Regions from separate parts of the Homo sapiens genome. Here regions 2, 3 and 4 are each linked to region 1. The links are contacts of gene promoters, found by promoter capture Hi-C in blood cells and fetal thymus (Javierre and others, 2016). All regions are on one chromosome and are shown on one strand. The core of a region is centred on a gene start or on the middle of the fragment in contact, and the rest is flanking DNA. Distances in the headings are between cores, read along the strand shown.

Region 1 (6,759 bases), core at 2,528-5,027:
ATAATAACAAAAACATCAGTTTTCCTTTCATTTCCCAGGACATTACAAATGACATTAAACCTGTATTTTTAAAGGTTAAGTACTAGATGCTGACATGAACAGAAGACCTCACGGAAACTAAGCCTTGTCTGCAACTCCTCATAAAAAGTACAAAAACATAAGAATTCAGAAATTTGGTGATATGGCTGAGTCTGCTGGCTCACGCCCATAATCCCAGCATTTTAGGAGGCTGAGGAGGATAGATCACTTGACTCCAAGAGTTCGAGACCAGCCTGGGCAACTTGGCGAAACTCTATCTCTACCAAAAACACAAAAATTAGCCAGTCTCACAAATCTGTCTCAAAATAAATAGGCCAGGTGCAGTGGCTCACACCTGTAATCTCAGCACTCTGGGAGGCCAAGGCGGGAAGATCGCTTTAACCTCAGGAGTTTGAGACCAGCCTGGGCAACTTGGCGAAACTCCACCTCTACCAAAAACACAAAAATTAGCCAGTCTCACAAATCCGTCTCAAAATAAATAGGTCAGGTGCAGTGGCTCACATCTGTAATCCCAGCACTCTGGGAGGCCGAGGCGGGAAGATCACTTTGACCTCAGGAGTTTGAGACCAGCCTAGGTAACATGGCGAAACCCTGTATCTACAAAAAAAAAAAAAAAATATATATATATATATATATATATATATATATAGCCAGGCGCGGTGGCTCACGTCTGTAATCCCAGCACTTTGGGAGGCCGAGGCGGGTGGATCACGAAGTCAGGAGTTCAAGACCGGCCTGGCCAAGATGGTGAAACCCCGTCTCTACTAAAAATACAAAAATTAGCTGGGTGTGGTGGTGGGCGCTTGTAATCCCAGCTACTCGGGAGGCTGAGGCAGAGAACTGCTTGAACCTGGGAGGCGGAGGTTGCAGTGAGCCAAGATCGTGCCACGGCACTCCAGCCTGGGTGACAGAGCAAGACTCTATCTCAAAAAAAAAAAAAAGAAAAAAATATGTAAATTAGCTGGGCACGGCGGTGCACACCTGTAATCCCAGCTACTAGAAAGGCTGAGGCTGGAGAATCACTTGAATCCGGGAGGCGGAGGTTGCAGAGATCGTGCCACTGCACTCCAGCCTGGGAAACGGGGTGAGACCTTCTCTCAAAAAATTAGATGAATAGATAGATTGCTTTAAGTTAAAAAAAAAAAAAAAAAAGAAAAAGAAATTTAGCACTAAAACAGCAACTGGGGCCGGGTGTGGTGGCTCACGCCTGTAATCCCAGCACTTTGGGAGGCCAAGGCGGGCAGATCACAAGGTCAGGAGATTGAGACCATCCTGGCTAACACGGTGAAACCCCGTCTCTACTAAAAATAGAAAAAATTAGCCGGGCGTGGTGGTGGGCACCTGTAGTCCTCGGGAGGCTGAGGCAGGAGAATGGAGTGAACCTGGGAGGCGGAGCTTGCAGTGAGCGGAGATTGTGCCACTGCACTCCAGCCTGGGTGACAGAGCGAGACTCCATTTCCAAAAAAAAAAGAGCAACTGGACAAGATAATCTTTGTGGTCCCTTACAACTTGTAAATATCCAAAACTTGTTCCAAGTGATCAGAATTATATTCATCAGAGGCTGGGTACGGTAGCTCACGCCTATAATTCCAGCACTTTGGGAGGCTAAGGCAGGAGAATCACCTGAGGTCAGAAGTTCAAGACCAGCCTGGGCAACATGGCGAAACCCCGTCTCTACTAAAAATACAAAATTAGCCAGGCGTGGTGGTGCGTGCCTGTAATCCCAGCTACTTGGGAGGCTGAAGCAGGAGAATCACTTGAACCCAGGAGGTGGAGGTTGCAGTGAGCCAAGATCGCGCCATTGCACTCCAGCCTGGGCAACAAGAGCGAAACTCCATCTCAAAAAAAAAAAAAAAAAGAATTATATTCATCAAGATCGATACCATTTAGATCCCTTAATCCCAAGGAAGTTATTCCATGACATTAGTCTAGACTATCCATTAAAACTTCATTTTCTGCAACTTCTTTCCTAATATCTCTAATCTTTTCTCTGCATTTGTTAATTTATTCCCAAATTTCATAACAGATGTCTTAACTGCCACTTCCTATATGCATGGAAAAAAATGAAAGGACCAATATGAACCCAAGGCTCAAAACTGAAAATCTGCTACAATGTAGAGGGGTAACTAATATCTTGTAATGCGGCTGGTAACAAAATCTAGTCCCATGTTTCTACAACATGTAAATAAAGCATCTGAGTGTCTTCAAACAATAACCAGTCGATTTATTAACTTCAATGTGTGCAAAGCTCACAACATTCTTGAACCTCAGGCTGTCAGTAAATCGGACATCCACACATCCAACCTCATCGGACTGGGGAGAGAACAGAAAAACTCAAAACAACATTCCTATTAAGTTCATAGTGATTATCTAGCTTAAACTTTTCAGCCCAGGCAGGATTTATAGGGTTCTCCGTTTGTGTTTATAAATTAGGAGAAATTCACTAAATTAGGCAAAACCACAAAAAAAAATCATTTTCCATTTCACACAAAACTTTATCTGCACAAATATAACAAGATTTTGAGAACTTTGTTAATAAGAGTCTTAACATTTTGGATTTGAGACTTCTGTAACTACTGTAAAAAAAAAAAAAAACCATGTAGAAGTAAATGTCACTTACAGCTGTATAATGAACCCTTCGGAGTTTTCAAAATCAAACGACTGAGGTAAAAATGATTATCTACAAGGCACAGACAAAACAACAACAACAACAAAAAACCACGGGCCCGTCATCTACAACCACCACCAAATCTTCAATATTTCCTTAGGTGTCGTATGTGTGTAGTTGAGTAACTGTCGTCTCTCCATTTCTCAGGTCACGGTGTGAACTACCTGGGTTTCTGTCCACTAACTGCGGGCTATCTCAGTGGTCAGTTCATTCTTTTTACCACAGGGTGGGGGAAGGGAGAGCCAAAAGTTATTTCCCTTTACTGTTTCTAGCTGTCTCGTGTGGGAAAAAAAGGTTGAAATTCAACTACAATATTTCACTCATCTAATCCCTCGAACAAACTGTATAAGTAGACCTCAGGGTCATAAATGAGTTACTGGCCCTGGGCTGACTTGAGCTCGAAAAGACAGGCGAGTCTCAAGGCTTTCCATATGGATAAGCTACAAGGCTCAATTCCCAACTTCCCGGTCTCATTCCTGCGAGAGGCTCCGGACCGCGAAGCTTGCACGTGGGCCGACCCGGCCGATGCTGTCACCTTTCGTCGCCAGCCGGCGGGTGGGATCCACGCCGGAGAGCAGACTCTCAACCGGCGAGGGAGTCCGGGAGGCCACGCTGCCAGTCTTCGGCCCACACATGGCCGGCAAGCGGAGGGGAAGAGAGCACCGCCAGGCCCTATGCTCGCGCCTGGACCCACGGCCCGCAGGCCCCGGCAGCGACCCGGGGCCCAGAGTCGGCCGGCAACAGCGCCAGCCCGCTTCCGCGCTGCCCGGCGCCCTAGCCCGCACCCACCTTGACGTCCTCGTCCTCGTCCTCGCCTTCCCAGCGGTCCCCGCCGGCAGTGCCGCCGCCCCCCACCTTCCGCACTGGGTCTTCCACGGAGAAAGCGTCGGCGTCTACGGAAGAAAGCGAGCCGTGTTAGTGCCTGCCACTGCGTGGGGCCGGCGCCGGCCCGGGCCCTGCCCCAGCAACTTCTCCTCACCCCAGGAGTCCGAGTCCCCCGCCGCCGCCGCCGCCGCCGCCATCTCGAGCCGGGTGTGAGCGTGTGTGAGAGGGAGAGCTAGCGAGGAGTTAGCACGGCGGAGGTGAGTCACTGGGTTTGCTCTCGTTGACCGGCGCGGAGCAGGATGGGACCGTGGCTGACTGTGCGCCGAGCCGAGGCCACGCCCCCTCAGGCGGCGGCGGCGACGCGCGCGGGTAAGAAGTGGGCGGGGAACGCGGTCGGTGGCGCTGCGGGGCTGAGGGAGAGGCGGAGGGGGGGGCGGAGGGGGGCGGAGGGAGGGGCGGAAAGAGCAGAGGGAGGGGCACAGGGGGCTGAGGAGTGCTGGGTCGGGCTTCCAGCTCCCTACAACGCAGACCAGTACTGGAGTTCGTGGTGCTGGAAGACCGCCGCCCGACTCTGGGCCCCGGGTAGGAAACGTAAGTGCCAGGAAGTTAGCAGAGTGGTTCTTTGGCTGGCGCCTGAACCTCGCCAGTCTTCGTCGCCCCTCCCCTGCCAACGCCTACCCCGCTTCGACCGGAGGGTGCGCTGTCCCTCTGGTCACTGTGATCACCGTCCATGGCCGCCTGCGGATACCCACGCCGTGCTCAGAAGAGGGCTCTGAGGCCACGCCCGCCTGTGGGGTCGGTGGCCGGGCTTCCGGGACCCCAGAGGGAGTCGTCGCGCGCTAGGTGGAGGGGACCCCTCTGGAATCCGGCGATCCCCGGGCGCAGATGCAGGAGCGGGTGGGGAGAGCCGCGTTCCTGGCATGTTTGCCTCGAGTTAGTCACGAAGGAATCGAAGAGAGCCTTAGTCTTCGAGGCTTTTCCCTTCCTGTGAGCCCCTTTGAGGCCAGCACATTGATTTTTTTTTCTTTCGCAGAACAATTTCGGACCTCCTGGGGTCTATGCTAGGTATGAGGTGTATCTTTGCCCTCCATCAAGTAGCAAAGATGGACATGTAAACAAATTTCGACACTGTGATGACTGCCACAAAAAGCAGCATTATGAGGTTGAATGTAAAAGGATAACCTTAGCGGCGGCGGGGGCCGGAGGATGAAGGAAGGCTTCCTGAGGTAGGCGCTGGTTGAAACTGAAGTTGGAGAGAGCAAGTGGCATTTGCTGAAGTGCATTTCCGGTAGAAAACTCCAGTGGTCCCTCACCTGACTGAGTGGCGCAGTCAGAGATAAATGGAACAGGTACACTGACCAGAAAGGGCAAGATGGGCTAAACTTCGCCGTTGGGCCACTGGGCTCCCCCGCAGGATTTTAAAGAGCTAGCCAGTAGATGGATTTTGTTTTTGTTATTTTCGCAATTTATTTTCAAATATGTAATACGCGAACTTGGTACAACATTCATGTGATAAAAAGGTAGATACGTGGGCAGGACGCGGTGGCTCACGCCTGTAATCCCAGCATTTTGGGAGGCCGAGATGGGCGGATCATTTGCTGTCAGGAGTTCGAGACCAGCCTGGCCAACATGGTAAAACCCCACCTCTACTAAAAATACAAAAATCACCTGGGCGTGGTGGCGGGCGCCTGTAATCCCCACTACTAGGGAGGCTGAGGCAGGAGAATCGCTTGAACCCGGGAGGCGGAGGTTGCAACAGTGAGCCGAGATCGCGCCACGGCTCTCCAGCCTGGGCGACAGTTAGACCCGTCTCAAAAAAAAAAAAAAAACAAAAAAGGTAGATACAACGATCAGCTGCTCCGCTCCGTTCTTTCTAGTGGTAACCATTGTTCCCCCTTTCTGGTGTTATCTTTTCAGAGTCTACAAATAAACATTTTATAAAGATGATCCTTCAATACATATTCTACAGCCCAGTTAAAATGTGAGAGGCCATGATCTACAGACAGCCATTTATAAAGGTGGATCAGGGCCGGACACGGTGGCTCAACGTCTGTAATCCCGGCACTGTGGGAGGCCAAAGCGGGAGGATCGCTTGAGCCCAGGAGTTCGAGACCAACCTGGCCAACATGGTGAGACCCCATCTTTACAAAAAAATATATATATCCAGGCATAGTGGTGTGCACCTGTGGTCCTGTGGTCCCAGCTACTCAGGAAGCTGAGGCAGTTGAGGCTGCAGTGAGCCACGTTCTGGCCACTACACTCCAGCCTGGGCATCAAAGTGACAAGACCAAAAAAAAAAAAAAATGTGGATTGGAAGGAGGCAAGAAAGAAGTCAGGAAAAGGGTGGAATGTAAGTCCCTAAGGACACAATCTTACTCACAATTGTATCTCCAACATTTGGCATAATGCCTAATACGTAAGTATTTTATGAATTAATTAAACGAGAACACAAGCCTAAATTAAGGCAATGGCAATGGAGAAGAAGAAACCAACTTGAGAAATATTTAAAGGTCATTGTCAATGGAACTTAGTGACTTTAATGGTTAATTTTATCTATCAACTTGGCTAGGCGATGCTACCCATGTTACTCAGTTTTTGGTCAAACACTAGTCTAGTTGTTGCTATGAATTGTATTTGTTAGATGTGATTAACATTTAAATCAGCAGACTTTGATTAAAGTACATTACCCTCTATAATGAGGGTGGGCCGCATCCGGTCAGTTCAAATTAAAACGAGACCCTTAAGAAGAAGCAATTCAGCCTCCAGACTGCAGCGTCAAATCTCCCTGGGTCTCCAGGCTGTTTGTCTGCCCTGCAGATTTCAGACTTGCCAGCTCCCAGAATAATGTGAGCCAATTCCTTAAAATAAATCTCTTTCTGCATATACACATCCTATTGATTCTGTTTCTCTGGAGAACCCGTACTAATATAGTGTCTGACTAGATATGAAGGAGGAGGGGAAGGGAGAAATAGATAGACGATGCCTTTGGATATTGAGTGACACTTATCTAGTTGCTTAAGTCAAAAACCTGAAAACTGGTTAGGCACGCCTATTACGGGCTCACGCCTGTAATCCCAGCACTTAGGGAGGCTGAGGCAGGCAGATCATTTGAAGTAATTCAAGACCAGCCTGGCCAACATGATGAAACCCCAAGACCACTAAAAATACAAAAATTAGCCGGGCGTGGTGGCACATGCCTGTAACCCCAGCTCCTCAGGAGGCTAAAG
Region 2 (7,354 bases), core at 3,906-6,405, 650 kb after region 1:
AGATGGAGTCTCACTCCGTCACCCAGGCTGGAGTGTGGTGGTACAATCTTGGCTCACTGCAACCTCCACCTCCTGGGTTCAAGCAATTCTCCTGTCTCAGCCTCCTGAGTAGCTGGGATTACAGGCACGCATCACCACGCCTGGCTAATGTTTGTCTTTTTAGTAGAGATGGGGTTTCACCATGTTGGCCAGGCTGGTCTCGAACTCCTGACCTCAGATGATCCACCTGCCTCGGCCTCCCAAAGTGCTGGGATTATAAGCACGAGCCACTGCTCCTGGCGATATGTGCCCTTTTAAAGTGTACAATTCAGTGGTTTTTAGTATATTCACAGGGTTAAAAGATCACAACCTGATTTTTTGTGACTGGCTTCTTTCACTTGGCATAATGTTTTCAAGGTTCGCCTGTGTTGTAGCGTCTATCAGTCCTTCATCCCTTTTTACCGGTGAATAAGATTCTACTGTATCATGATACTACTTGTTTATTCATTTATCAGTTAATGGAAACTTTACACTGGAAAATGGATTGGGTTGTTTCTGCTGTTTAGCTCTTAACACATACTGCTGCTATTAACATACATGTACCAGTTTCTGTGTGGACATGCATTTTTAAATCTCTGAGCACATACTGAGGAGTGGAATTGCTGGGTCATATGGTAACTCTATTTTTAACAATTTAAATGACTTTCAAACTCTTTCTCAAAGTGACTGTACCATTTAACAACCCCATCAGCAATGCATGAGGTGTTGCCATTCTCTTTGGATGTTCACAGCAACCTTCTAAGGTTGGTATCATTATAACCTACAACTTACAGATCAGGACACTGAGGCTCAGCAAGTAACTTGCCTGTAGTCATGCGGCTGGCAAGTGGCAAGGCTGAGACTCAAACTATGGTCTTGTGATTCCAGATGATATGCTTTTCCCTCTGTGACCTACTGCCAAGTATTAACCCTGCATCACCTATGAACAGCTGTGTTTCTTACCCTTTCACCTCTGTGCCTGCATCACCCGATGAGAAGTCTTTCTGTGTTGCAGGACGTGTCAGGAAATGCTGCATTTCTGGCCTTCACTCCTTTTGGGTTTGTTGTTCTTCAAGGAAACAAGAGGGTCCACTTCATTAAATGGTGAGCATCTTCATTTCCAAAATAGGCTCTTTATATCTCACCAACTGGGGAGGGGCGACGGTTCCCGTGTCCTTTGTCTGTGATTGGGCAGTTCTGGTTCAGAGCCCTCTCCAAAGCCTTGCGTTGATGGTGGTAACTGACGAAGGGAGTGGTCTCTTCCTAGGGATCCTTTTCTTCTAAAGGGGTGTCCCTGAGAGCCAACAGCCTCTCCAGAAAGGAAAAGGGATACAGAGGTTTGATTTCTGGGGAGGGTGAGAGGCCTGGGGCTGGAGCCAGTGTTAGCGGAGCAAAGTTCCTGTGAGAACTGAATCCTTGGGGCCGTCACCCACTGAGGGTCATAGTTAGCCCTGTTGAGCCGGCTGTTCTGGAGCATCTCTGTGGATGGCTTAGTGCCCTTACCTGCTCTACTAACAAGGGAGGGGCTCACAGACAGTGACCTCTGGGGCAGATATAAGTCCTTTGCTACTTTGGCAAAACACCCTCCTCAGACCAGCCCTCCCTGTGGGCATCGTGTCTGCAAAAGCTCAGTTGCTGCTGTCTCACTCCTATCCCTCTTGGGCATTTAAGTGTCCTCAGCTTCCAGGAGTCATATTCCCACTCTTTCTTCCTTCCCTCCCTTCTCCACTCCCATCTAACAGGCAAGAGCCACTGCCTCAGCTGCAGCTACTCTGAGCTGCTTCCTCTCCTGCCCCTCTCTGTTTTATTTGGGGTCTGTTCTGCTGCATGCCTCTGGGCAGACTCTGGTTTGTTGATTGACATTTGGCTTTCCTGGAGACCCTTTAGCTGGCCAGCCCATACAAACATCTGTCAGCGTCATCAAAACATTTTGCATATTCTACTAAGCTCTTGTGATTTCTGTACCTTCCTGGGCCTCAGACTGCCAAGTCTAAGCTGGCCAGCTCCTTCTAGGGGCTTAGATAAGTGGCTTCCCTTGGTCCAGCAGAGCTCAGTGGGGGGAAGTCTGTTTGGTTTGTCTTCTCCAGGAGAGCTCATGAGGAATCTTGAGTACAGTTGCTTCCTAGTCAGCGTTCTGCTGGGGACACTGCAGACCATCTATCCCGCTGTGCCCTCTTCAGCTCCCCCACTGAGTTTGAGCTTGAGGACAGATACCGCCTTTCCAGCCCACCTTGATTTTGTGAAGGAGGGCATTACGATCGTCAGCCAGAGTGCTGGTGAAACTGCTCCTCACACAGGACAGGAAACTCGACTCCCCAGGACAACAGCCGTGCCACAAGGCAGCTGCTGCCCTGGAGTTACCAGAATACACCCCAACATACCTGTTTCCTAGGCATCCTCAAGTCGGCCCACTTCACTGTGCTCTCTGGGTGAAGATGTGAGGATTTGCAATCTCCTGTCCAACAAAATGCTTTTCAGAAAAAGGCAATGAGCAGGATCAGGCCTCAGCCCTCCTAGTGTGGGGTCTCTGCTGCCTGGATACATCTGGGCTATTTGATATTCTTTAGAGGGCCCAGATCCACATTCCAACCAGAGTAGCTGTTGGGTGAGGTCCCTGTTAGAGGGAATGTTTGGCTAGAAACAAGTAGGACACACCTGTCACAGACACCTGCAGTCCCTAAATTATACCCACCCTTCCAGAAACCATGATGGCTCTTGGTTCTCACAGACACTTTTCTTTCCACGGCTTCTCTCATGCACCACTTCTTCTAGAAGTCTCCTCTTCACCATGTGTCAACTCTGTAATAATAGATGTAAACCCAATCTCACTCTCAAAATAAAACTCCTTACTTTCCTAGCTTGCTTGTTGGAACCTAGGTGATCTGTGTGCTTGTCTATATATTAACCAATTGGCATTATTGTACTGTGTGTGTATGAGATTGATGGTTGATTGAGAGGGAGTTTGAGAGGGAATCAAACAGGGAAGGAATACCGTGTGACTTGTGTTAGCTCAGAACTGGTGGTCAGAAGTTGTGAAATCTCATCCTGACCCAGCCATGATTTTCAGGAGCATGGAGAACAAGTGATTTTCCTCTGTCCCCTGAACTTTTTCCAGCAGTAAGTTGGGTACATGATTCTCGCTACCTTTCTACTATTTCCTAGGAGATGAAGGAAATCTCCTTAGAAATTACAAAAAAAAGCAGCAGCCAAGTGGAGGTGAATGTGCATGACAAGACCGCCTTGGGGGTCCCAGTTGGGTTGAAAAATGGGGCCTCCAGTGACATGGAGAGGGCTGAGAGACTCCAGAGGGCAGCTATGTTGGGCAGATAGAAGGGAAGTGAGGAGCAACCAGTGCTGAGGCCTAGTTCCATGGCTCTCAGGGACATTCACCTAAGACCCAGTAGTTTTTCCGTTTTGCAAATGTAACCAAGGCTGAGAGCAGGAGGTGGATGTGGAGGTGAGGTCTAGGCCGTGCCATGTACAGTAACCATGTCACTTCTTCTGATTTGTGTCTGTCCCACGGGTGATGTACCCCAGTATCCTGTTTGCCTCTTTTACTGCAGCCATTCACTGGGCTGGTGGCTTCAAGGATTTTTCTACAATAACCCCTAAGCCCCTTTCCTGGTCAGTACGCTGCATGACTGTTCCATGTAATCTGTTCTCTCTCTTTGGTATGTTGCCCTGCCCCGCTCCCTGAGATTGTTTGATATTTGTCTGCATTAAACTGCATTTTCCATCCAGTGGCACAGTCACCTGAAAGACTCAACTCCCTCAGAACCTGGTTGCATTGTTTCTCATTATTTGCTGTATCTTGAACTTTGGCCTCATCAGCTACCTGTGGCATCTTACGTTTGACAGTCCCATCCAGATAATGCACCTGTGTTATGAACCCAATCCTGAAATGACCCCAGATACTCTACCTAGACTCACTTTCCATGCAAATGTTTCCCTTTTACAGCCACTGTTGATAAGCCCGAAATCCTCCTGTCACCCTATTACTATAGTGTGATTGACCAGAAAACTGTGGATTGAACTGTTTCAACAACATTCTCTAAGGCCACTGCGCTGCTGTCTTGTTTCAGTTCTGATTTTGGCTAAAATTGTGTCTGTGCCTGGAGCCCCTTCCAGTTGGGGTGGGCTGTGCATCTACAAGATTTAGCTGTGAACAAGCAGCCCACAATGAGGTGACAGGCACTATCTTTGTGCTTCTAGGAATGAGGTGACCAAGCTGAAATTTGAAGGAAAGACTTTCTATTTATACGTAAGTCAGAAAGAGGTGAGTGCTGGCTTCCTTCTCTTCAAGGAGGGCTGGGGTGATGGGATGCTTCCTGGTGGCCAGAGCCAAGCTTGAGGGACCCCAGTAGAGCCAAGCTACCCACATACTAAGCCAAGACCAAGGTCAGGACCTGGAGGTACAATATGAAGGAGCGGGAAGGCCCTGGAGCACAGGACTTCCTCAGGGATGCTATTGACACCCAGAGCTTCCACTCAAGAGATCTTTACCTCCAGGAAATGCAAAGGAAGGCTCTTTTTCTTTCGTGTATATGGGAATTCCAGAGGCAAGGGCAACTTTCTCACCAAGAGCTCTCCTGGTTCAATTTGTGCCACTTTTGTGCCAGCTGAGACTTACCCTGATTGGACTTGCCAAGTATGATGTGATGCACTTAACTGAGCTCTGCCTCAGTGGGTCCCACAGGCCCTCCCCTCTAACTAGCCAGCTGCCAGGGCCTCTAACAGCTCTGGGGTCAGGGTCCTCGCCTACTTCACCCTTTGCTTCTCCATCCACACTCAGCCATATCAATGTGGAATTTTTTGCAGGAAAAGAAAATTATTCTTACATATTTTGCTCCAACTCCTGAAGCGTGTAAGCACCTCTGGAAATGTGGAATCGAGAACCAAGCCTTCTACAAGTGAGTGGATACATGTGATGGGGACTGTCTTTCTTAGAGCCAGAGTCAGAGAGAGTCGGTGACAGGAGGCCAAGTGCCCAGGAACTTGGGGCGGGGTAGCTGGAAGTGGGCAAGAGCTTGACAGTTACTGAGAAGCCAGGTTGAGGCCAAAGGCAAGAGCTTTGCCTACCAAAGGGATTTTGTAAAGAATGTGGGGCTTTTGTGTTGTTTTCTTCGGTTAAGAAAGTGGTTATAAAAGCATTAGGTAGTGAAGAAATGGCCCACTGAGGGCATGATGCCAGGTAAAATATGTCTCACTAAGCCCTTTGGTCTTGTTTTAAAAATATACCGTAATGATTTATGCTTTACTAAGATGTATCTGAATGAGGTCAAGGCAAGACAGAGTGTGGTATATTCTACCTGGGGTGAGCCCTGCTCTCACCAAATGCCCCTGATTGGCCAGGTCCCAGTTCCAGTAACCTGAAGGATCCTGGAGAGATGAGAACTGCTCTGGGATGAGTGGCACCATACTTCTCTCCAGGGAAGATTCTGCTGCCTGCTGGCTGCTATGGGATGCTGGCTGGCAGAACTGGGTCCTCCCAGTTGCCAGGGCCACAGCCCCAGAAGCTGTTTCTTAGACAGGCATTCTGAATTACTTAATTCCCATTATGTGTTTATACCAGAACCAAGGATTCACTGAATCGGCAGCCTTTCTTCTCCTGAATATACTCGGGAGACTTTGGCATGGTCACACTTCCCTCCTGTTCAGTCCCTACTGTCCATAGAAAGTCAAGAAAACATTTATTTTCTTTTGCTACCACCCTCCCTTTGCCTGTGAGGATGTAATCCAGGTTTGGCCAGTTACCTGAACCTAGAGAGAAGCAACTTGAGATGCAAGCTCCTGCCTGTGGGACTGAGGAGCAGCCCAAGAACTGGGGTCCCACGGGTCTCCGCAGCAGAGAGAGGAAGGCACTAGCCGACAGGGGCCTGCTCCACACTGAACTATCCCTGCCCTGGGAATGGCATATGTGGAAGCTTTCCCTTTCTCTCTACCAAAGGGTAGAGAAGAAGCAAACAGAAGCAATCTCCTTGCCTCTTGTCTTTTCATGCCTTCAGCAGCATTTCTTAAGGGCTTGGTTTTCCCATCTGTGTCACGGAAACAGAAGTGTTGCTTCTGAACCTGTGACCTCACTCAGTTTCTGAGTCTTCCCACGAGTAGATCTCCCTACCCACCCAGCCCTGCCTGCACCCACACTGGAAATGGAGGTCATTTTTCAGTTTTCCATTGCCTCCTTAATGTTCTCATCAAACGGTAAAAGCCTGGGTGAGATCCCCAGGTATGTCAAGTCTCTGGCAGCAGCGCTTTGGCCTTGCCCTCAGTGTCTCTCACATACAGATCCCTAGTCCTGCCTTTGGCCTAGTGCCATGGCAGGAGCCCAGTCAGATGCAAGAACATGCCCAGGCTCCAGTAAGCAGCTCGGATGTCCTGGAGCCCTGAGACGGGCAGGGATGGTGTCTCCCAAGAACTGTTCATGGATTGTGGAAACAGCTCCTACTCACTGCTCATAGCACAGGTTTCAGACTCACATAGGTTACTGGTTGGATCAGTACCATAGGCACCTGGGCATGTTACAGGTGGATCCCATCTTAGGAGGCTTCTCTCTGAGCTGCTGTGCCCAAGCTGAGAGAGCTAATGGGCTCAGTGAAGTCACCCAGGAGAAAGTATTACAGAGCTCCACATCGGCTGTCTGCAGCTTCAAACGAGATATAAAATAGATATCCTGGGGGAGGGAGAAAGGCTCCAAATTCAAATACATGACGGACTTTTATTAAAGTTAAGCTAGTTTCTTCATCGCAGGATTTCTGTCTTTACTGTGGTCATGTATTTTAGGACCCTCCAAAAGGGAGATGGAACAGGAAAGACAGCCCCCACCCTCTTCTCCACCCACAATTACCCAGACATAGACACAAAATCAAATACTGGGACTGGAAAGGAGACCCCTAAGGTCCAGTAGTCCCAGCTCTATCATTTTATAAAAAGGGTGAGGCTAAGAGAGAAGGAAATTTGCCCGAGGTCACACTGCTAATAAGTGACGTGGCTGAGATTAGATGGGCATTCTATTATTCCCCAAGACCATCCACCCGAGCATGTATTCTCTCAGTCCCCCTGGTAAAACCTATGAAGCATTTTGGGGGAGCCTTCACTCTCCTGACACTAAAATGGGTTTCCATGTTGACAGTCCTGGGCACTGAGGCAGGAGAGCAGCTGGCTGTGAGCACAGCCCCCAGATCCTAAATGAGAGTCAGAGACAAATGTGGACTATGAAGGGCTTTTTTCCTGAAGTTTCAAGTAGCCTTTGGAAGAAGCTGGGGATGTGCTGCCTTAACCTGTGTGAGGCAGTTCAGGCTGTCTATCACACTGGACTTTGCCTTGCTACAGGCTGGAG
Region 3 (7,046 bases), core at 2,007-4,506, 690 kb after region 1:
AAAAAAAAATTAGCCAGGTGTGGCAGCGAGCGCCTATAATCCCAGCTACTCAGGAGGCTGAGGCACGAGAATCACCTGAACCCAGGAGGCAGAGATTGCAGTGAGCCAGGATCACACCACAGCACTCCAGCCTGGGTGACAGAGCAAGATTCCCATCTCAAAAAAAAAGAAAAAAAAGCATTGAATTTTACATTTTTTAAATAGGATTTTATGATAGGTAAATTATTACCTCAATGAAGCCATTTTTTAAAAAAACTGGGGAAATTGTGAGCACAGGATAGACAAGGTAATATTGCTTTTAGACTTGTTAAATCTGTTAATGAGATTGCCAAATGTCCTGGAAAATTAGGTTGATGGAGATACTGGACTACAGAGACCTAGTAATACAGATTTTTTTTTTTTTTTTTTTTTTTTGAGGTGGTGTTTTGCTCTTGTTTCCCAGGCTGGAGTGCAATGGCGCCATCTCGGCTCACTGCAACCTCCGTCTCCTGTGTTCAAGCAAATCTCCTGCCTCAGCCTCCCAAGTAGCTGGGATTACAGGCATGTGCCACCATGCCCGGCTAATTTTGTATCTTTAGTAGAGATGGGATTTCATCATGTTGTTCAGGCTGGTCTTGAACTCCAGACCTCAGGTGATCCGCCAAACCTTGGCATCCCAAAGTGCTGGGATCACAGGTGTGAGCCACCGCGTCCGGCTGTAATACAGATTTTTGGAGTCATCATGAAAGATATGAAAAAAGGATTTTTATGTATGTCTTAAATCTATACAGATCAACTCATCCAAAAAAAAACCTTCATTTAATCATGCTAATTTTCAATTTTTCCTTTGCAAAATTCTTCAAAAAGTAGTCTCAGATGGGTGTGGTGGCTCACACCTGTAATCCCAGCACTTTGGGAGGCTGAAGCAGGTGGAGTGCTTGAGCTCAGGAGTTTGAGATGAGCCTAGGCAACATAGTGAGACCCATCTCTACAAAAAGTTAAAAAATTAGCCAGGTGTGGTGGCACATGACCGTAGTCCCAGCTACGCAGGAAGCTGAGGTGGAGAATTGCTTGACCGTGGGAAGTTGAGGCTGCAGTGAGCTATGATCATGCCACTGCACTCCAGCCTGGGCAACAGAGTGGGACCGTATCTCAGGGGCGGGAAAAAAAAAAAAAAGTCTCTATCCAATGCTTCTCCAGTTCTTTCATTACCCCCATACTTCCTTAATCTCCTAAAGCCTTTGTTCCTTACTTACCTCATTGTCAAAGCTATTCTCTCAACTCACTACATGGTACCCTATTTTCAAAATCAATGGCCTTTTCTCCATTCTTTTAACTTCTCTGCAAAAGGCTCTGTCAACCTCCCATCCTTGAAACTCATCTCTTGGCTTCCAAAACATACTATTCTGATCTTCTTCCCACTTTTTTGCTTCAGTTTTCTTTGCTAAATCCTATCACCTCCTATCCCCACTCACATCTTATCAAAATAAGGGAGAATCTATGATCCCAAAATAAGAACTTGGTTTCTGTCTTCAAACTTGCAAATTTTGTTTATAAACCCCAACCAACTTCAAGTCACCACTATTTCTTCACCTTCATTAATTGTCCTTATGGCATTTTTCATGTCTTTGGTCTTCTTCCCCAATAAGAAAATAAATTCAGAGAACATTAACTTGACTTTTCTCAATTTTGTAATAACAGACAGTATTTCATGCAGAATTATATGCACAATGAATGGAATTCAGTATCTATTTCTGACTCATCAAAGATAACTAAAATCATTCCAAAGCAGGTCCCTGGGAAGATATTTTGATACAGCTTAGAAACTGTTTCTTAGTCCATTTGGGATGCTAAAACAACATACCATAAACTGAGTGGCTTATCAACAGCAGCATTTTATTTCTCACAGTCCTGGTGACTAGGAAGACCAAGATCAAGCTTCCAGTTCATTCAGTGTCTGGTAAGGGCCTACTTTCTGGTTCATAGTTGGTGCCTTCTAGCTGTGTCCTCATATGGTAGAAGGGACAGTGGTCTCTCCTGGGTTTCTTTTATAAGGGCACTAATCTTATTCATGACCTAATCACCTCCCAAAGGTCCTACCTCCTAATACCATAGGGATTAGTATTTCAACATATGAATTTTGGGGAAGACAAAAACATTCAGACCATAGCAGACCATATTTTAAACACAACTAGAAAACTAAACTTCGGGCTGGGCGCCGTGGCTCATGCCTGTAATCCCAGCACTTTGGGAGGCCAAGGCAGGCAGATCACGAGGTCAGGAGATCAAGACCATGGGGAAACCCCACCTCTACTAAAAATAGAAAAAATTAGCCAGGCATGGTGGCAGGCGCCTGTAGTCCCAGCTACTCGGGAGGTTGAGGCAAGAGAATGGCGTGAACCTGAGAGGCGGAGCTTGCAGTGAGCCGAGATCACACCACTGCACTCCAGCCTGGGCGACAGAGCAAGACTCCCTCTCCAAAAAAAGAAAACTAAACTTTGATCTTTTTTTTTTTTTTTTTTTTTTTTTTTACACAGAGTCTCGCTCTGTCGCCCAGGCTGGAGTGCAGTGGTGCGATCTCGGCTCACTGCAAGCTCCCCCTCCCAGGTTCACGCCATTCTCCTGCTTCAGCCTCCCGAGTAGCTGGGACTACAGGCACCTGCCACCACGCCTAGCTAATTTGTTCCATTTTTAGTAGCGATGGGGTTTTTTAGTAGAGACGCGGTTTCACTGTGTTAGCCAGGACGGTCTCGATCTCCTGACTTCGTGATCCACCCGCCTCGGCCTCCCAAAGTGCTGGGATTACAGGCGTGAGCCACCGCTCCCAGCCCTTTTTTTTTTTTTGAGACGGAGTCTTACTCTATCACCCAGGCTGGATGGCACAGTGTCGACTCACTCCAACCTCCGTCTCCTGGGTTCAAGCAATTCTCCTGCCTCAGCCTCCTGAGTAGCTGGGATTACAGGCACCTACCACCACGCCCAGCTAATTTTTGTATTTTTTTACTACAGACGGGGTTTCACCATGTTGGCCAGGCTGGTCTCGAACTCCTGACCTCAGGTGATCCGACCGCCTCAGCCTCTCAAAGTGCTGGCATTACAGGCGTGACCCACCGCACCCGGCCACTTTAAATGTATATGTGAAAAGATCACACAAAGTGTAACAAAGTTTTCTGGCAGTTAATTTATGACCAGATGGTTAATGATATTCAAGCTAAAAATATTAAAGTTCTATAAAGCAAATTTAAATTCTTCCAGATTTCTAAAATTTGGAATCATAAAGCATCATAAAGCCCAAAATTGTAAGTCTCACGCAACATTTATAAACACATGGCTCTAGCCTATTCTCTTCCAGCCTATTTGCTTTAGTCAAACTATAATATATTCAAGAAATTTAATAACTTACCAAATCACAAAGTCCAACTTGCCCAAATTTGGCCCCAACTGCTACCAAAGTTCTAGTTTCTGATGGATGGAGAGCCATAGAGAATATTGGGCCTGTGGTAACTTTGTAAACGGTATCTTCACTAATGACCATGCCATTTAAATTGGCTTTGTAGCTAAGAAAATTACAAAGTTAAATTTTGTAAGTAAAACCAATCTCAATAGTCAAAATAAGTAAAAGATTATTCAAAAAGAAAAATCACAATTAGCAAATAAATATGGGAACTATTCAATCTCCTGGTAACCAAGGAAATCAAATTAAGCAATATTCTTTCACTTTTTAAATTACCCTTGATAATTTTAATAACACCAAAAGCTGGTAGGCTGCAGTTAAATACACATACTCACACATATTGCTAGTGGAAGAGTAAGTTCATATAAAATGTTCAGAAGAAAAAAAAAGACCTTTGAGCAACAATTCGGCAATGTGTACTAAAAGCCATAAAAATGTTCACAATATTTGATGCATTAATCTCACTTCTGGAAATCTAACCTAAAGAAATAATCCACTATCATATCCATATACTTCAACAAACACATACACAAACACACAAAGCTAAATGGAAAACAACCGCAAATACCAAGCAGGTAGGAGGAGAAGTGAACTCCTTCTACTCAATGGAATATTTTATAATTATTCAATAATTTTAAAGACTCTAGTAACATGCAACCGCAAATGAAAAAAAACATAACGCAGGCCAGGCACACTGGCTCACACCTGTAATCCCAGCACTTTGGGAGTCCAAGGCAGACAGCTCACTTGAGCCCAGGTATTCAAGACCAACCTGGGCAACACAGCAAAATCTCATCTCTACAAATACAAAAATTAGTGAGATGTGATGGTGCACGCCTGTAGTCCAAGCTACTTGGGAGGCTGAGGTGGGAGGATCATTTGAGCCCAGGAAGCGAAGGTTGCAATGAGCCAAGATAGTGCCACTGCACTGCAGCCTAAGCGATAGAGGGAGACCTTGTCTCAAAAAACAAAAAAAAAAAAAAAAAAAAAGAAAAAGAAAAAAGTGTAATGCAAAATTGTATATACATTACAACATATAGTAAAAATGTATGTGGATTCACTCATTTATTCAACACTGAACATATATTATGTGCCAGGCACTGTTCTGGTTATTGAAATAGAATTCTTGCTTATATCCTAGTGGTATTGTATATGAAGCTTATATCCTAGTGGTATTGTATATGGCAACACTTGTGAGGAAATACACAAAAACAACAGTTGTTAGGGTGGAAACATTTCATCTCACTTTCAAAATTCCCTAAAATGGCGTATAGTCTTTATAACTCAAACATCTCAAAAAATATAAAAGAAACACAAGGAATTTCAACTTACCTTTTAATGCTAGATAATCCCTTCTCAGTGTTCTTACTACTTGGCTGAAACATTGGGAGAGATGAAAGAACTAAGTTAGTATGTATATATTTTTACATATATATATATTTCCTTAACAGATGATTCTAAAGGCTATTGGCCTTCCCAAGTGATACCTTGCTCATTCCTGCCCATGTGTGCAGAAATCCTTTAAATCGTTCATTGTTGTCTTCTTGATTTTCAGAAGTCATTTCTAAAGGCCCAGGAGGTAACAAAGGCTGTTATAAAAAATAAAAAGTTATTTGTTGGGCTCCCTGCCCTAGAATATAAACACAAGGAGGGCAAGGGTATTTGTCTGTTTTCCCCACAACTTCACTTTCAACATCAACAGTAATGGTGGCATATCATGGACATTCAAAATAATTGTTCAATAAATGAATGCCAGGTACCCTATAAAGTAATAATAACATGTATTATCTCATTTAATCCTCTCAACAACCTAGCAAATGAGGTATCACATTTTAAAGACAGTGGATTGAAACTTAGAGACTGTAATCCCAGCACTTTGGCAGGCCGAGGCAGGCGGATCACAAGGTCAGGAGTTCGAGACCAGCCTGGCCAATATGGTGAAATCCCATCTCTACTAAAAATACAAAAATTTGCTGGGCGTGGTGGCAGGCACCTGTAATCCCAGCAGCTCAGGAGGCTGAGGCAGGAGAATCGTGTGAACCCAGGTGTTGGAGGTTGCAGTGAGCCAAGACTGCACTATTGCACTCCAGCCTGGGTGACAGGGCAAGACTCCATCTCAAAAAAAAACAAAAAACAAAAACAAAAAAACCCCAGAAACTTAAGAGGAGTTAACTTGCCCAAAGTCACACAGCCAATAACTGGAGAAGCTGAGAATTGACTCAGATTATCTTAACTCATTACTCAGTATTATACCTACATCAGTATTTTTTTAAACAGTTTGTAACCAATTAGTGGGTGAGAAATCATGTTAGTATGTCACAACTAGCAATTTGTTGTAGTGAATGAGAATAGAATAGAAATACCAGGCCAGGTACATGGCTCACACCTGTGATCCCTGCACTTTGGGAGGCTGAGGCAGGCAAATAGCTTGAGGCCAGAAGTTCCAGACCAGCCTGGCCAACATGGCGAAACCCCATTTCTACTAAAAATACAAAAATTAGCCATGCGTGGGCCGGGTGCGGTGGCTCATACCTGTAATCCTAGCATTTTGGGAGGCCGAGGCGGGCAGATCATGAGGTCAGATTGAGACCATCCTGGCTAACGCAGTGAAACCCCATCTCTACTAAAAATACAAAAAAATTAGCCGGGCGTGGTGGCAGGTGCCTATAGTCCCAGCGGAGGCTGAGCCAGGAGAATGGCATGAACCTGGGATGCAGAGCTTACAGTGAGCCAAAATCACAGCACCGCACTCCAGCCTGGGCAACAGATTGAGACTCCGTCTCAAAAAAAAAAAAAAAAAAACAAAAAAACAAAACTTAGCCAGGCGTGGTAGCACACACCTACAGTCCCAGCTACTCTGGAGGCTCAGGCATGAGAATCACTTGAACCCGGGAGGCGGAGGTTGCAGTGAACTGAGATTGTGCCACTGCACTCCAGCCTGGGTGACAGAGGGAGACTCTGTCTCAGAAAGAAAAAAAAAAAAGAAATACCAAAGTGCACCACATGTATTAAGTGTCGTTTGACAAACTGTGGTTTCAGTTGCATATATGTGTGATAGTTACAATGTAAATAAATATATATATATATTTTTAAATTAACGTCTCAAGTGATGCTCCCACCTCAGCCTCCTGAGGAGCTGGGACTACAGGCACATGCCACCACACCCAGCTGATTTTTGTATTTTTTTTGTAAGAACAGGGTCTCTTGATGTTGCCTAGGCTGGTCTCAAACTTCTGGGTTCAAGCGATCCTCCTGCCTCAGCCTCCCAAAGTGCTGGGATTACAGGCATGAACCACTACACCTGGCCACAAATATATTTCTTGTGGGCTGAGGCTTCAAAAAAATTTGAAGCTACTCTTCTATGCTGCTTCCCATAACACCTAGATTTGCAATTTGCTCCCAAAACACCAGCCTAATTAGTGCTATCTTCCTATTTACAATTAAACACTTACATATAAAGTATTAAAAATAGGTGTTCTTGAATAAAAAATATTTAGAAAATGTTTGCTAAATAAAACTCTACTCACTAAAACTACACATTATCACGTATTTATTAACATTAATAACTATATTCTATTGATTACTAAGCCCCTAATATGTGAGAAACTTTATA
Region 4 (7,059 bases), core at 4,362-6,861, 670 kb after region 1:
TTCAGAGTTCAACAACAAGCTTCCAAGATGCCGCCCAAAGGAAAAAGTGGTTCTGGAAAAGCGGGGAAAGGGGGTGCAGCCTCTGGGAGTGACAGTGCTGACAAGAAGGCTCAAGGTCCCAAAGGTGGTGGCAATGCAGTAAAGGTCAGACACATTCTATGGGAAAAACATGGCAAAATCATGGAAGCCATGGAAAAGTTAAAGTCTGGGATGAGATTCAATGAAGTGGCCACACAATATAGTGAAGATAAAGCCAGGCAAGGGGGCGTCTTGGGTTGGATGACCAGAGGGTCCATGGTGGGACCATTTCAAGAAGCAGCATTTGCCTTGCCTATAAGTGTGATGGATAAGCCTGTGTTTACAGACCCAGCAGTTAAGACAAAATTTGGATATCATATTATTATGGTTGAAGGAAGAAAATAAAATCATATGAAAGACTGAAAGAAAAAAAAAAAAAAAAAAAAAAACTAGGCCCAGGACACCAAAGGCAAGAAAGGCAGAATCTTTAACAAATTAGGGGCTGGGTGCGGTGGCTCACACCTATAATCCCAGCACTTTGGGAGGCCAGGAGTTCTAGACCAGCCTGGCCAAAATGGCAAAACCCCGTCTCTACTCAAAATAAAAAAATTAGCTGGGTGTGGTGGCAGACACCTGTATTCCCAGCTACTCAGAAGGCTGAGACACAAGAATCGCTGGAACCCGGGAGGCAGAAGTTGTAGTGAGCTGAGATTGCACCACTGCATTCCAACCTGGGCGACAGAGTAAGACTCCATCTCAAAACACACACAAACTAGGCCAAAACCGTAAGCAAAAAGCAAAGAAAAACTCTTCTAAAATGGCCACTGTGATTTCTGTGCCTTCTCTTGTTTCATACATACATATATATATATATATATATATATATATATTTTTTTTTTTTTTTTGAGACAGTCTTTCTCTGTTGCTCAGGTTGGAATGCAGTGGTGTGATCTTGGTTTACTGCAGCTTTGACCTCCCAGGCTCAAGCAATCTGCCCCCCTACAAAGTAGCTGGGACAACAGGCATGCACTACCACACCTGGCTTCCTCCTCGCCCCGAGGCAGAGTCTTGCTCTGTCACCCAGGCTGGAGTGCAGTGGCACGATCTCTGCTAACTATAACCTCTGCCTCCCAAGTTCAAGCAGTTCTCCTGCCTCCCCTCCTGAGTAGCTGGGATTACAGATGCCCGCCACCACACGTGGCTGATTTTTGTATTTTTAGTACAGACGGGGTTTCACCATGTTGGCCAGGCTGGTCTCGAACTCCTTACCTCATGATCCGCCCGCCTTGGCCTCCCAAAGTGCTGGGATTACAGGCATGAGGCACCACGCCCAGCCTTTTTCTTTTTTTTAAGATGGAATCTTACTCACTCTGTTGCCGAGGATGGAGTGTAATAGTGCGATCTCAGCTCACTGCAACCTCCGCCTCCCGGGTTCAAGCGATTCTCCTGCCTCAGCCCACCAAGTAACTGGGATTACAGGCATGTGCCACCAGGCCCGGCTGATTTTTGTATTTTTAGTTGAGATGGGGTTTCACCACGTTGGCCAGGCTGGTCTGGAACTCCTGACCTCAAGCGATCCACCCATCTCGGCCTCCCAAAGTGCTGAGATGACAGGTGTAAGCCACCATACCCGGCCTGTCGTCTTCTCGATATATCAAAATAGAGTGCAGTGGCTACTGCTGCTGGTCATGTGGGTGTGCAGAATGGTACCCAATAAAACACAATGGGTGCTACTGGAAAGCAAAGGGTGCATTGGGACACAGCCTACTCATGTTCCTTTTGCCTTTCTAGGCCTAGAGTCCTTACGGGACAGTGCCCATTCCACACCAGTGCGTTCCACTTCCCATGGGGACACCTTCCTGCCTCACGTGAGAAGCAGCCGGACAGATAGCAATGAGCGAGTAGCTGTGATTGCAGACGAGGCCTACAGCCCTGCAGACAGCGTGCTGCCCACCCCTGTGGCTGAGCACAGCCTGGAGCTGATGTTGCTTTCCCGGCAGATCAATGGAGCCACCTGCAGCATTGAGGAGGAGAAGGAATCTGAAGCCAGCACCCCAACTGCTACAGAGGTGGAGGCCCTTGGGGGAGAGCTGAGGGCCCTGTGTCAGGGGCACAGCGGGCCCGAGGAGGAACAGGTGAATAAGTTTGTTCTAAGTGTCCTCCGTTTGCTCCTTGTGACCATGGGACTCCTCTTTGTTTTGCTCCTCCTCCTGATCATCCTTACCGAGTCTGACCTTGACATTGCCTTTTTCCGTGATATCCGCCAGACCCCCGAGTTTGAACAATTCCACTATCAATACTTTTGTCCCCTCAGGCGATGGTTTGCCTGCAAAATCCGCTCAGTGGTGAGCCTGCTCATTGACACCTGAGAAGGCATGACTCCTCCCAAAAACTAGCCAGGTGGACCAAGGAACCCGGCTACCCATTCCCAGCAATGGGACCCATCGCGGAACCATCGGCACATATACCAAGTCCTCCTCTCATGACTCAAAGTCCACTGCAGCCTAGGAGGGTGTTTCCCAGAAGAAGAAAGGGATAGGCTCATGCCCTGTCTAAACAAACTGGGAAAACTCATTTTCTTCAGAAGTTATTTCAAGAAAGGCTCAGCGACTCTGTTTCTCATCTTTCCAATTTGCAGGATAATTTTTGGTTTTGAATTTTGATTTTTCATAGATGTATATTATTTTGAAGTATCAAATAAAAATAATTTATTTTACTATTACTGATTATTGCAGTAGTATCACCTAGCAGAGGGGACACTAGTTGAAAACTAGAGAGCTGCTGTCCTCTGTATTCTGCAGGAGCTTTTCCTGCTGGTGCCACTGGGTTCCAGTAGACTCATCACTGCAGCCTCAGCAGGGCAGGCCAGGGATCTGGACAATGGGGACTGTTTAGTTTTTTGTTTGTTTTTTTTGCCAGCCAGAACTTTTAAAAAAGTAAACATCCATGTAGAATGATTAAATGGAAAGTTGCTTCTTATGATGGTCTGAGTTGGATTTTCTTTTCCTTTTGTTTTTTCAAATCTGAGCAGAGTGGGCATCTGAAGGGACCACCGCTACAGCAACAGCAGCATCAGGGGTGGGGTAAGTCTGTCCCCTTAGTCTAGAGCCTAGTGGGCATCACCATAGTTTTGTATAATGAAACTAGACTTAACGTGATTTTTTTTTTCCGAAGAACCTCAAGACTTTTATAGTGCTCCAGGGGCGTTAAACGAATTCAGTGGTACCAGAGATAGATAGTTCTGTCAGAAATGTTGGACAAAGTGTAGTTAAGAGAAAGCAGAGTTAAGTTACCTGAGAGACTGTTGAGATTTGGATAGCAGTGCTTATTTTATATACACCCCCTTGACCCAAAGACTATTTCAATTTATATTTTAACAACGAAATGTTATTTTCTTAACAATTCATATTTTGTTTTTACTTTATGGATTAAGAAAATAGAGCCTGATGAACTAAACGATGCAAGAAAGAAACTGATCCTGAGAATGAAAAGCTTCAGAAAATAGAATTCCAAGATCAACAGCCTTAGAAGGGACCAGGAAAAGAATCTTTTAAAATAGATTTCTAAGAGATGCCTACAAAACACAGAATGTGACCGTGGCAGAGACCAACACTTAGATGTAGAAATGCTGCCCCCTAGGGTCATCCTCTGCATAAGTTCTAGGAAAGCATCACCATCCTTGCAGAGGGAAGTCCTCGAAGCACGCAGCACAGGCATATGAAGGGCGAGTGTGGGATCCTAGGCCCAAGCTCTTCAACTCTAAAACCAATCACACACAAGATCCTGTTTTCATCTCAGGGAGAGATTTCTAAGTCATCTGGGGCTTGAGGGCTTATTTAAGGGTGGTCAATGGACATATTCCTGGACCCACACAAAAGTAGAGCAGCTGCTGATACCCTAATTGGACAGCCCCAAACGCAGAACAGAACAAGTCACTTGTAGACTTGACCTCCCCTATTTTGTCCCCCGAGATGGTAGAACCATGTCCATGTTTACAATATGACAACTGTGGAATAATTGGGGTTCTTAGGGAGAGATTTGCATAATTTTAAAGACATCCTTTCATCTGGACCAGAGGTCAATCAACTTATGTCAAGTGCTACACAGTAAATATTTTGGTTTAGCACGCCATACTGTGTCACAACTGCTCAATTCTGCCATCACAGCACAAAAACAGCCACAGATAATTTGTAAATGAAGGAACATGGCTGTGTTCCAATAAAACTTTATGAAAACAGTGAGCTGAATTTAGCCTACAGGCCATAATACGCCAATCCTGCTCTAGACAATAAAACTGATCCTTACCAGTATGTTAGCAGAAGAGGGTCAGTCAGCTCTGTTTCCATGCCTGACATGTATCAAAGATCTGGGACCTCTTCCCAGTGGAGGCACTAGGGTTGCTTGTTTAAAGGGTGCTTGAACAACTAACCAGCAAAGAGATGTCTGATGCCAAATGGGCAAGATCAAATACTGGAATGCTAAAACACAGCTGGAATCTAAGAAGGGAAGAGGGCTTCTCTGACCATTTTCATACCAGCAACAATTTAGGCAGAATTATAAACATCTATTTATCGAGTGACAATACAAACCGAAGGAGATCCTAGTAGAGATTAGGGGTCAGTTAAAATCAACTAGCCACTGCCACTTGTCATCTACATAGCAAAGGCTTTATTTAGCACAGGACTAACGTGAAAAGTAGACCCAGAGATGAAAAGGCTGTCAGGAGACAGGGGGCTGGTGTCCACCTGGTATCTACTGTCTTATGCAACATAGAAGATTACCTTTTAGTGTAGTGCTCCTACCTCAGTTTGTAGAATCTGGTGTTTCTATGCAGTGAGTGATAGCCTCAACTCTGACCTTTCATATTCACATTAGAGACAGATGCAGTATTCCATATCCTAGTATGTTCCTTGTGTCTAGAGTTCTAACAGTACAGTAGTCTATGCCATTTCTAACAGCTAAATTTTGCTCTGTAAACAGAAACTTTAGGGTTGTTTTTTTCCAGGGCTCATCCCAGAAAATATGGATAGAAAAGTTTCCTTCAGTTTGCTTTTCAAATAGTGCTTGAATAATAAACCTCCTTTGATTGGTGACTAGTCTTTTTTGGTATATCTCCACCTTTAAAAATTGTTCAAGTTTTTAACCTGGTTATACTGTGTTCTAACATGTCTCTCATTTTCTCTCAAAATTAGTTTATCTCATTGTAGAAAAAGCAATGGTTTTCATAGCTTCATCTATCAGGAAATAAAACTCTTACTAAAGAATAGCATACTGCATCTTTAAGCAGTAGAGGGTAAACTACCTGCAAATGTGAATTTCTTAGATACATTTAAAAATATATAGTTGTTAACCTTCTGTGTGCCAAAAACTCTTAAGTTACATTTTCCTTCAAAGCAATGTACTTTTTTCTACATATGCAGTATGTAGTTAGCATAAAATCATTGGTGCCATGAAGATTATTTTTAAACTTAAATAAATATTTAAATATCATGGAAGAGTGGGCTCTTTCTTTAATAATAGCCTGTCTTACTTTTCCTCCCTTAAAGTTACTAACACATAGATAAAAGGATACTGGTGGGATTTACACAGCTGACTACTATTCACTTGGATCATATAACATAATTATTTTGCTTGTATCCACCTATTATCCTTGTCCTTACCCCCAGATAAATACTGTTAGAAACTGAGAAGCGGCCAGGCACAGTGGCTCACGCCTGTAATCCCAGCCCTTTGGGAGGCCAAGTCGGGAGGATCACGAGGTCAGGAGTTCAAGACCAGCCCGACCAACGTGGTGAAACCCCCGTCTCTACTAAAAATACAAAAATTAGCCAGGTGTGGTGGCGGGCGCCTATAATTCCAGCTACTCAGGAGGCTAAGGTAGGAGAATCGCTTGAACCTGGGAGGCGGAGGTTGCAGTGAGCTGAGATCACACCACTACACTCCAGCCTGGGTGACAGAGCAAGACTCCACATCAAAAAAAAAAAAAAAAAAAAAAACTGAGAAGCTATATATGTAATAATTTTAAAGTGAATTGGGTATTTTTCTGATGAGGAAAACCAAGAAGACTAAGTGATTTTCCCAAGATTACATAGTGGTAGAGTCCAAACTAGAACCCAGATTGTCCACCTTCTGGTCTGCTGTTCTTACTCAAGCCTGGAGTAAGTGGGAGCACAGAAAATACTTTCTAAGAAGGAACTACAATGATACCACCACCACATATTTACAAAATATATCCCTATAGCATTATCTCATCTGATTATGTAACCATCACTCTGTGGCTACGGAATTGGAAATGGTCTTCTAAATTCCATGAGGATAAGAGGTGATAATGGGGGCTTGGTCCACTGTGCTAGCTTCTTACCTAATCTTTGTCTTTTCAATTCTGCCTGCCCTCCACTCTCCCATTTCTGTTGCCAGATCATCCTCCTAAACACCAATCAGGCTATGTTACCTCCAAATTTCAGAGGTACCCACTACCTAAAAAATGCTATCTAGCACCCTATCCCCAGCGGAATTTTTTGTTTTTATGACATAAGATTTTGCTTGAAGTGATCCAAAGAGTAAAAAGCACAAGAAACACTGGACCTGGGTGGCTTCCCGTGGCCCTGCCGATTCACAGCAGCCTCCCTTCTGCTGACAGCTTATCAAGAACTACCTGTGCACACACCCCTGTAGGACTCTAGTCCCTACTCCCTCTGCTTTGGGTTCCTCTAGCACAATCTAGCTCCTCTGCACCTGAACACACTTTTGGTTTTAGCTCATGAACAGGCTTCCTCTTCAGACCCCTACGACCTGCTGATGGAATGGAGTAAAACAAGCAAAGCACCCTTTTAATAAATTTCCTCTTGCCCAGTTTCCATTTTGGGGAAAATGTATCATAAAATGTTTTGTTCTTCAGCTCCGTGTAAGTGTACTAAATGTTATCTTCCTCATAAATTCTACCTTTTCATTTGAAAATCCAAGTATTTACAGCCAAATAAGTCAAAATACAATCTGCTGTCTTGTTATTTCTAGCCATCAACACCCTACTAAAAAGCAGGG

What was found. The method cuts DNA at HindIII sites, captures the fragments that hold promoters and counts their contacts. A CHiCAGO score of 5 or more calls a contact.
Region 2: a fragment that was not itself captured here is called in contact with the fragment with the promoter of EIF3J in region 1 in 1 of 17 cell types (endothelial precursors); the score reaches 6.4 in endothelial precursors.
Region 3: a fragment that was not itself captured here is called in contact with the fragment with the promoter of EIF3J in region 1 in 3 of 17 cell types (megakaryocytes, endothelial precursors and erythroblasts); the score reaches 5.7 in megakaryocytes.
Region 4: a fragment that was not itself captured here is called in contact with the fragment with the promoter of EIF3J in region 1 in 3 of 17 cell types (endothelial precursors, megakaryocytes and M1 macrophages); the score reaches 7.5 in endothelial precursors.

Annotation. Positions count from the first base shown.
Region 1 is chr15:44,534,165-44,540,923 of GRCh38, reverse strand. It overlaps EIF3J (eukaryotic translation initiation factor 3 subunit J), which reads right to left and starts at 3,777. Exons shown (of 8, transcript NM_003758.4): 1 at 3,687-3,777; 2 at 3,497-3,600. The coding sequence starts at 3,729. EIF3J-DT (EIF3J divergent transcript) reads left to right here and starts at 4,001. Exons shown (of 2, transcript NR_034170.1): 1 at 4,001-4,881; 2 at 5,450-6,419. RefSeq lists silencers at 3,275-3,324, 3,345-3,654, 3,845-4,014 and enhancers at 4,185-4,634, 4,322-5,109. The HindIII fragment of the contact is 7,095 bases long and covers 3,211-6,759 here.
Region 2 is chr15:43,885,749-43,893,102 of GRCh38, reverse strand. FRMD5 (FERM domain containing 5) reads left to right here. Exons shown (of 14, transcript NM_032892.5): 8 at 1,034-1,122; 9 at 4,231-4,294; 10 at 4,837-4,928; 11 at 7,348-7,354. Among named protein-coding and RNA genes, the nearest start is that of WDR76, 62 kb to the right of the region's middle. The HindIII fragment of the contact is 1,578 bases long and covers 4,367-5,944 here.
Region 3 is chr15:43,840,391-43,847,436 of GRCh38, reverse strand. WDR76 (WD repeat domain 76) reads right to left here. Exons shown (of 13, transcript NM_024908.4): 6 at 4,921-5,022; 7 at 4,766-4,809; 8 at 3,383-3,536. Among named protein-coding and RNA genes, the nearest start is that of WDR76, 17 kb to the right of the region's middle. The HindIII fragment of the contact is 2,674 bases long and covers 1,920-4,593 here.
Region 4 is chr15:43,869,213-43,876,271 of GRCh38, reverse strand. It overlaps FRMD5 (FERM domain containing 5), which reads left to right. Exons shown (of 14, transcript NM_032892.5): 14 at 1,810-5,508. The coding sequence ends at 2,387. It also overlaps the pseudogene PIN4P1. Among named protein-coding and RNA genes, the nearest start is that of WDR76, 46 kb to the right of the region's middle. The HindIII fragment of the contact is 4,197 bases long and covers 3,513-7,059 here.